Regions from separate parts of the Homo sapiens genome. Here regions 2 and 3 are each linked to region 1. The links are contacts of gene promoters, found by promoter capture Hi-C in blood cells and fetal thymus (Javierre and others, 2016). All regions are on one chromosome and are shown on one strand. Each heading gives the region's core, a stretch centred on a gene start or on the middle of the fragment in contact. The rest is flanking DNA. Distances are from core to core; before and after follow the strand shown. Region 1 holds the start of LINC03047 (long intergenic non-protein coding RNA 3047). Region 2 overlaps UBR5 (ubiquitin protein ligase E3 component n-recognin 5). Region 3 overlaps UBR5 (ubiquitin protein ligase E3 component n-recognin 5).

Evidence for each region. The method cuts DNA at HindIII sites, captures the fragments that hold promoters and counts their contacts. A CHiCAGO score of 5 or more calls a contact.
Region 2: a contact is called between a fragment that was not itself captured here and the fragment with the promoter of LINC03047 in region 1, in 3 of 17 cell types (M1 macrophages, M2 macrophages and M0 macrophages). The highest score is 5.3, in M1 macrophages.
Region 3: a fragment that was not itself captured here is called in contact with the fragment with the promoter of LINC03047 in region 1 in 1 of 17 cell types (activated CD4 T cells); the score reaches 5.4 in activated CD4 T cells.

The regions. Positions count from the first base shown.
Region 1 is chr8:102,527,403-102,530,203 of GRCh38, reverse strand. It overlaps LINC03047 (long intergenic non-protein coding RNA 3047), which reads right to left and starts at 1,383. Exons shown (of 2, transcript XR_001745731.2): 1 at 1,349-1,383; 2 at 353-893. RefSeq lists enhancers at 1,037-1,086, 1,157-1,206, 1,387-1,606. The HindIII fragment of the contact is 12,429 bases long and covers 1-2,801 here.
Region 2 is chr8:102,393,671-102,396,606 of GRCh38, reverse strand. The region is part of intron 1 of UBR5 (ubiquitin protein ligase E3 component n-recognin 5); the gene reads left to right. Among named protein-coding and RNA genes, the nearest start is that of UBR5, 18 kb to the left of the region's middle. RefSeq lists an enhancer at 1,481-1,560. The HindIII fragment of the contact is 518 bases long and covers 1,426-1,943 here.
Region 3 is chr8:102,305,558-102,308,490 of GRCh38, reverse strand. The region is part of intron 20 of UBR5 (ubiquitin protein ligase E3 component n-recognin 5); the gene reads left to right. Among named protein-coding and RNA genes, the nearest start is that of UBR5-DT, 68 kb to the right of the region's middle. The HindIII fragment of the contact is 1,225 bases long and covers 1,029-2,253 here.

The DNA of each region.
Region 1 (2,801 bases), core at 134-2,633:
AGAAACAAATAACCAAAATAAGAGACTGATTAAGCAAATTATGGTACCTGCATATAGAATATAAAAATATAGATGGGTGCAGTGGTGTGTGCCTGTAATCCTAACTACTTGGGAGGCTGAGGAAGGAGGATCACTTGAACCCAGGAGTTCAAGGCTAGTCTGAACAACATGGTAAGACCCCCGCCTCAAAAACAAACAGAAGAATATAAAAATATATTAACAATCATCTTCTTAAAGAATATTACTGAAAAGATAAAGCATACACAGTATATTCCTAAATTAAAAACACGCAAAATTGTGTATATAATAATGTCCCATTTTGTTAAAAAAATTTAAAGGGAAAAACATTAAATCATATAATGTTACATTTTAATAAAGAGTATATAAATATGTGCTTACATATCATATATAAAACAGTATATGTGTTATGTTTGTTTTATAGATGTTTTATAATATGCCATGTTACATTTACATAATATACAATGTATACTATATATATAGATTTATTGATTCATTATATTATGTCACTTTTTATAAAGAATTCTCTACGTCTCTACCGGTACATGTTTATGTCATGCATCTGTTATATAAACCACATAATATACATGTTACAAATCACATACATGTATATATATGCATGAATGTACAGCGCTCTCCCACGTGTCATCCGAGGTCACTCTGGGACTGAAATAAAACGGGTTGTATCCTCCAGTCCACGTTGGCGTAAAGTACAATGAACAGTGTCCTCCTCAAGTTTATCCAGATTCCCAGGAGCTCACTGCTGCCTCTGGACTGTGGGGTTCATTCTCAGACCAACCAGACTTCTTTTTTCCCTTCTCTGCTCCAGCTCAGAGGTGGGATTCAGCCATTTCTCTGGATTCCTCCAAAACCACCTTCGCAAGGAAAATGAGCATGTGGCAGATGTTTTCTTTCTTCTTTTTTTTTTCTTTTTAGAGATCGGATCTGGCTCTGTTGCCCAGGCTCGTCTTGAACTCCTGGGCTCAAGCAATCCTCCCACCTCGGCCTCCCAAAGTGCTGGGATTACAGGCATAGCCTGTACCACGCCCAGCCTAACATTCTCTCAATGTTCAGAGCAGCACAGCGTGGATGCCTCTTATGTAGAAAGCCCCCACTGCTTGCAGGGCTCTGGCTGCCGGGGTGGGGCGGGGCCTGGGGGCGACGGTATTTGCGCCCCTCCAGGCTGGCCCTCCCTCTAGGATTTCCTCGCTTCAGTGTGTCCCCCACCTTCCCATCTCGTGCTACACCTCCTGGCATTACAGACAAGACCCCTTGATGACTGTGACAGACATCCGGTCTGGGACAGAAGATAACAAAGAGAAAGCCTTACCAGTCCATCCTCCCACAGCCACCAGGAGGAGTGAGAACGATGCCAGCACAGCTCAGCACACAGCACAGCGCACAGCACAGAGCACGTAGAACACAGCGCACAACAAAGCACACAGCGCACGGAGCACAGCACAGAGCACACACGCGCAGCACACAGCGCACGGAGCACAGCACAGAGCACACAGCACAGCGCACACAGCACAGCGCACACAGCACAGAGCATGCAACACAGCACAGAGCGCACCGCGTGCACAGCACACAGCGAGCACGGACCACACAGCGCACGGAGCACACAGCGCACGGAGTGCACAGCACAGCGCAGGCTTCTGGAGCAGATTCTGGAGGAAGTCCTGGTTCCGCCACTTACCAGCTGTGCGGTTTGGGGCACAGTTCTTCCCCTGCCTTAGTTTATTTATCTACAGAATGGGGTGGGACTAATATTTAGTAGGGTTGCTGAGAATTAAATGAGTTAAATATAGAAGAATATCTTTGAACTTGGCAGGCAGTAGACAAAAGTTTCTTAGAGTTAATATGTATGAAGTGCTTAGTGTTTGGCACATAGTAAATAATATTCGATGTTATGTTTTTCTCCACAAATACGAATTATGTCCTCAGCCACCGTAACTGCCCAAGGGGTTCACCTTGCCTGCTGCCTAGACTGAGCCGATTCATCAAGACAGGGGAATTGCAATAGAGAAAGAGTAATTTACGCAGAGCCGGCTGTGCAGGAGACCGGAGTTTTTTTTATTACTCAAATCAGTCTCGCCAAGCATTCGGGGAGTCGAGTTTTTAAGGATAACTTGGTGAGTGGGGGGAAGCCAGTGAGCCAGGAGTGCTGATTGGTCAGGGATGAAATCATAGGAAGTCGAAACTGTTGTCTTGTGCTGAATCAGTTCCGGGGGGTCCAGGGGCACAAGATCCGATGAACCAGTTTATTGATCTGGGTGGTGCCAGCTGATCTATCAAGTGCAGGGTCTGCAAAATATCTCCAGCACTGATCTTAGGACCAGTTTAAGGAGGGTCAGAATCTTGTAGACTTCCAGCTGCATGACTCCTAAACCATAATTTTTAATCTTGTGGGTAATGTTAGTCCTACAAAGGCAATCTACTCCCCAGGCAAGAAGGCGGTCTGCTTTGGGAAAGGGCTGTTACCGTCTTTGTTTAAATTAGAAAAACTAAGTCTCTCCCAAAGTTAGTTCAGCCTATGCCCAGGAATGAACAAGGACAGCTTGGGGGTTAGAGGCAAGATGGAGTCAGTTAAGTTAGATCTCTTTCACTGTCTCAGTCATGATTTTACAAAGGCGGTTTCACCATCCCTCCCATAAACATGCAGGAGCAGCTAAAGGCAATTTGGTTTTGAATTACATGTTTATCCTTATATCTAAACTAGCAGAAGAATATATTTCAAAATGTAGGAGATGGGGCTGGGCGAGGTGGCTCTCACACCTGTAATC
Region 2 (2,936 bases), core at 435-2,934, 130 kb after region 1:
TCTGTTAAGTTTTGTAATAAAATTTTATCTATCTTTGGAAAGTTTGTTTTATGATATTGACACTAATTATCAAGCAATTCCTGCAGAATTTGAAGAGTGATACTGTGTATCCGAAAGATACTGTGTACCTACCACAGACAGGCCCTATGGAAGACAGCTCTGAGAACTGGAAAGACTGTAGAGTTGGAGTTAGGAGGCTTGGTCATTCCACTAAACAGTCACATAGTCATTTTCATGCAGTGAGTTTCATTTTACTCATTTGTAAGATGAGGAGGTGTATTTAATGTCTGAAAGTTCATTTCAGCCTTGAATCTGTGTGACTGTAGAGCTATAGATACTGTTTTATGAGTTACATTTGATATATGTTGGCCAGTTCTGCCATTTTAAGGTTTGATTCTTATTTCCTGCCTCAGACCTGCTCTTCTGCTTTTTTTGTACTTACTCTAATAGGTATTTAGGAGTAGTGGGCAGAAAATAGAGCTTTCTAAGCTCTTGCCGTCTGGTTAGTTTAACTGAAGAGGAGCTCTTAAAAAACATGCCCAGGTCTTCTGTATTGCTCCCCCACCCCTTCCCCCTTTATTTGATTTTATTTTTGACATGGAGTCTCACTCTGTCACTCAGGCAGGAGTGCAGCTTTATCAAGTATATGATAAAGCAAAAGCACATTGATGATGGCATATCACCTTCTGAGTTTGAAAATGTTTGTTTACCTTTGATTTCTAATGGATTAAGAGTGTTGCTCTTGTTTTTTGGAAATGCTGTTTATTAGGTCCTAGTACTGCCACATGCTCAATGAGAAACTTTTTAACTTCTGTTTTCCAGGAAACCCATTGTTCTGTGTATTAGACTGTAATAGATATTACCTTGTGACTTGACACTGCTGAATAGAATGTTTTGAGATGTTTCATCAAAACTTTACACCAAGGACGATTTTAGGATTTTATTTTATAGCTGAGGAAACTGAGGGCCGGAGTGCTTAGATTAGTTAAGTGGCAAAGACTCCACCCTACATTAACTTAGCCTTATTGCTTTTCCTTTGAAAAGGGTAGAGGAAGTTACTTGTTTTTCTATGTGTGTGTGTATGTAATTATATATTAATGTGAACACACACTGTTTGTGTGTATGTATGTTTGTGTATATATGTAATTATAAATATGAATACACTGTGTTTGTGTATATGTAAACAGGTACGTGTGTGTGTGTGTATATATATAAATAGATATATGTGAAATCATTAAAAGAGTGTTTATTCAGCAAGATTTGGGGGCGTCTGCTGCCTGTCAGTTCTAGTCTTGGGTGTCTGGTGGTGGTGTTTGGTTCATGAAAAAGAGACAGTTACAGGACAGTGTGACAAGTACAGTGAAAAGGGAAAGTTCAGGATTCTTCACTAGAAGCACCAGTTCAGTCTTGGGCAGGGGAAAAGCTTACCTGAAGAAGTGTTGAAAATGAGAATAGGGATTGTGAATGAAAAGGAGGTAGGCTGAGAGAGGCTGGTGGGAGAGCTGTAGGATGTAGGACGTAGGACAAGGTGTTAAGAACTGGAAGAGCTCCCTAGGCAGAAGGAACAGCACATGTGGAGACCGTGAGAGACTGCTGTGTATTTGAGGAACTAAAAGAAGCCCAGAATGCTTAGACTGATGAATACATAGAGTTTCAAATCAGTTGAATAATGTTCTTGTAGAAAAGGATACCTTGTTAATTATCTTCAATAATGACTTTGGTCATATCATGATCAAGTAAATAAGATGTGCTAGGCCATAAATTGGCCATAACTGGTTAATGTAGTTGGTTAGGCTTAGAGTAATGGAACCAATGCACTAAGGAGTGTGAATTCCATTTTCCATGTAGGCAAGTTGCTTGATTTTGTGGCTACAAAGAATGTACTTCACCTCTCTCCAGCCAAGTTGTTGGTGTTTGCCATTGTTAATGAGGATGATCAAGCTTGAATGGATGATTCAGTTCAAATGCCTCACTGTTATTGGGAAAAAACTGCAGATCTTTTGGAGAAACCAGTAGAATCACGGAGCTGAATAAAAGACAATGTGTTTTTCTATCTAAGAGGTGAAAAAGTCTATGATATTAACTGTGGTAAAGACTAAAGTTTCATAAGTGCTAAAACAAAATGACGGTATACTTGCCTCTGGGTTATGGTTGATTACTTTTGATATTTCTTGATATGATTTTGTATTTTATATACTTCTGTATATGAGTATATATTATTTTAATAATAGAAAAAGAATAAATTCTGGCCGGATGCGGTGGCTCGCGCCTGTAACCCCAGCACTTTGGGAGGCCAAGGCGGACAGATGATGAGGTCAGGAGTTAAGAGACCAGCCTGACCAAAATGGTGAAACCCTGTCTCTACTAAAAATACAAAAATTAGCTGGGCGTGGTGGTGTGCGAATGTAATCCCAGCTACTCAGGAAGCTGAGGCAGGAGAATGGCTTGAACCCGGGAGGCAGAGGTTGCAGTGAGCCGACTGTGCCACTGCACTCCAGCCTGGGCGAGGGCGAGAGTCCGTCTCAAGAAAAAGAAAAAGAATAAATTTCTAGGAAAGTGTTTTAGCTTATTTAACTATTCACCTAAAATAAGAACGTGAAAATCATTGAATAAAGAATAGTAATTTAGTTTCACCTAAAATATTTTTTCCTCTAGAAACTTTTTATTGTTATTTTTTAAGACAGAGTCTTGCTCTGTTGCCCAGGCTGGAGTGCAGTGGCAGGATCTTGGCTCACTGCAACCACCGTCTCCCTGGTTCAAGCAATTCTTGTGCCTCAGCCTCCAGAGCAGCTGGGACTCCAGGCGTGTGCCACCATGCTCGGCTAATTTTTGTGTTTTTAGTAGAGATGGAGTTTCACCATGCTGGCCAGGCTGGTCTCGAACTCCTGGCCTCAAGTGATCCGCCTTCCTCAGCCTCTCAAAGTGCTGGGATTACA
Region 3 (2,933 bases), core at 392-2,891, 220 kb after region 1:
CTTTTCAGCTCCATTATAATCTTATAGTACCACAGTCATATATGTGGTCCATCATTGACCGTAATGTTTTTATGCAGCACATGACTGTACTAGGTATCTTTTTAAGGTAGAACTAATAGATTTGCTAATGGCTAAATGTAGGGTATCAAATAGACGAAGCAAGAGGGTTAATGGTTTTGGAAGAATGAAGTTGTCATTTACCGAGTTGAAGACTATAGAAGTGAAGAAGATTCAAGGGTTTGGTTTTAGACGTGAAGTTTAAGATGTCTCTTCTGATAGAGGAAGTGAATGTGAAGACATTTTAATAGATGTCTCTTCTGATAGAAGAAGTGAAGGTGAAGGTTCAGGAATTTGGTTTTAGACAGGTGAAATTTAAGTTGTCTATTAGAAGATTATCTGACAGATTCCTGGACCAAGAGGAGATGGCAAGTAGAAAGTTAGATGTGTAAGTCTGACTAAGAGAGAAAGGCTCAAGCTGGAGAAATTTACTTGGGAGTTGTTTATTTAGAGGAATTATATTGAACAAGATCATGGAGGTGGTGAGGAGAAAAGGTCCAAGGACTAAGTCCTGAGAATAGTCTCAACATTTAAATGTTAGGGTGATAAAGAGGAACGAGCATAAGAGATCGAGAAGGAACATCCACAGGGTTGGAGGAAAGCTAGAATGAGTTGTGTCCTGGAAGTCAAATGAAGAGCACATGTCAAGCAGGATGTTGGGACCAACTGTGTCAAGTGATGTGGTAGGTCAGTGAAGTGAATACTGAATATTGACTGTTGGATTTAGCTCCATCTAGGTCATTATTGATAGTGGGGATGAAAGCATTAGAGTGAACTTAGGAGAAAATGAGAGGTGAGGAACTGAAGATAAATATCAGCAACTTTTTTGAGCAGTTTTTCTATAAAGGATGGAAATGGAGTTTAATATGGGAGCATATTCACCCTCCATTAGATTGGAGGTGAGAAGTACTTTTTAGAACTGCATCTAAAATAGACTGAATCCAGGTGCTTATGAGCACTATCTGTAAGCTTTTATTTAGACACCCAGACTCATTCTTAGCTTAGCTTTGCTTGTAACCTACTGCACTAGTGGTTTCAAACTAAAGGAGGTGATGATACAGAGGTAGCTGTGGTCTGAACTTGATGTCTAGAAATAGCCTTCATATCATTTTAGAATTCTTGATGGGTTACCAATATTGAAAAATCACAGGATTTACATTTAAAATCCAGATTTTAATTTTAGAAGATCTGGTGAAATTGGGCCTCGTAATCTACATCCCAAAAACATTAGACTGGTCTTTACAATTCATTGCAGTTCTCACTACTTAGAGTTTGTTGCTCCAAGTGCTAGTGATGCCATTTAGTATACAGCTTCTGTTATCTCTTTTACACACAGCCTCCTTCATTCATTTATATTACTTCAAGTGTAGGCATTTGATTCTGTGACCTCTTCACTTTGTCAGGATCTGACAGGTAGAGTCATCATCCCGCAGGTAGGGATGAAGTGTGTCATGATTAGTCTTTATACCTACCTCAGTGACTAGGGCCTACCACACAGTAGACCCACAAGAAATTTTTTATTGAACTCACTCTGCCTTTTGCTATAAGAATAACTGACAGATGTAACATACAATGATGCAGAGTAAACTTTTCTGCTTGTAACACAACTAAGTAGTATTGATACTCTCAGTGTGAGAGCCCATCTACTATAGTCTGGCAGGTTGGAGATAAGAGTTTCCTGTAGAGTAGTAGCTGCTTCTAACTAAATAATTTGCTGTTACTTGAAACCAGTGTATATGACAGCACCGTACAACAGAATATCTTGATTTTAGTTGCCCTTTGAAAGTACTCTGTTCTTTGTTCTTCAGGGAGACTTTGACATTTTCTCTCAACACATATTTTGTATAAATTTCCCTATGTTTTGGAAAGTTTAGTATTAAGCTCCTCATGAACTGGAGCTTGCTGTTGATGAGGTGACTTCAGAGCCATAGTTAGTTCCACAATCAAAGTGGCCTGTCTCACGTGTAGTGGATAGTGAAAATAGTTGTTTAGGTGTGTTTTCTTGTGTGGACATCTGTTCTCCACCCGCTCTCAAGTTGGGGATAGGGGAGAGCTTATTTTGACAGTTTTCCAGAAGGTGGCAAGTTGTTCAAATGCAGTTTTTTTTTTTCCTTTATACTCCCACATGCTCTTTTCCCACCTGCTTTTTTCTAGTTATAGTTAAAATGAACAACTTTGTTTTATAAAACTAAAGCTTTATATTCGATTCATTAAATATTCCACAACTACAGTTTTCCAATGTGAAAGAATGAACTTCTTGGTATATTCATGCTATTTGTCAGAAAGCTAATGATATGTTCTATAAATACTTATCAGTACCACTGTGTCTTTGTTAATTAAATTACACCTGTCATGATCCCTGCAGAATTGAAGGTATCGGTTTTCATATAACCTTTAATAGCATAAGAGGGCTGGGTGTGGGTTGCTCATGCCCAGCACTTTGGGAGGCTGAGGTGGGGGCATCACTTGAGCCCAGGAGTTTGAGACCAGCCTGGGCAACATGGCAAGACTGCCTCTACAAAAAATCAGCCTGCTGTGGTGGTGCATGCTAGCTACATGGGAGGCTGAGGCGGGAGGATTACTTGAGCCCAGGAGGTTGATGCCATAGTGAGCTGTGTTCACATCACCGCACTACAGCCTGGAAGACAGAGTGAGACACTGTCTCACACACACACAAAAGCCTAAGAAGGTGGGAGTAAGCCTGGAATAAAATTTATATCCTTTGCTTAATTGGCTATCATTATTAAAAGGGTTCTAATTAGATAGATAACATGAAGTAAAAACCAAGGATTGGCAGACTATGGCCCAAAGGCCGAATCCAGCCACTCCTATTCATTTATGCATTGTATGTGGCTGCTTTCCTGTTTCAGTTGCAG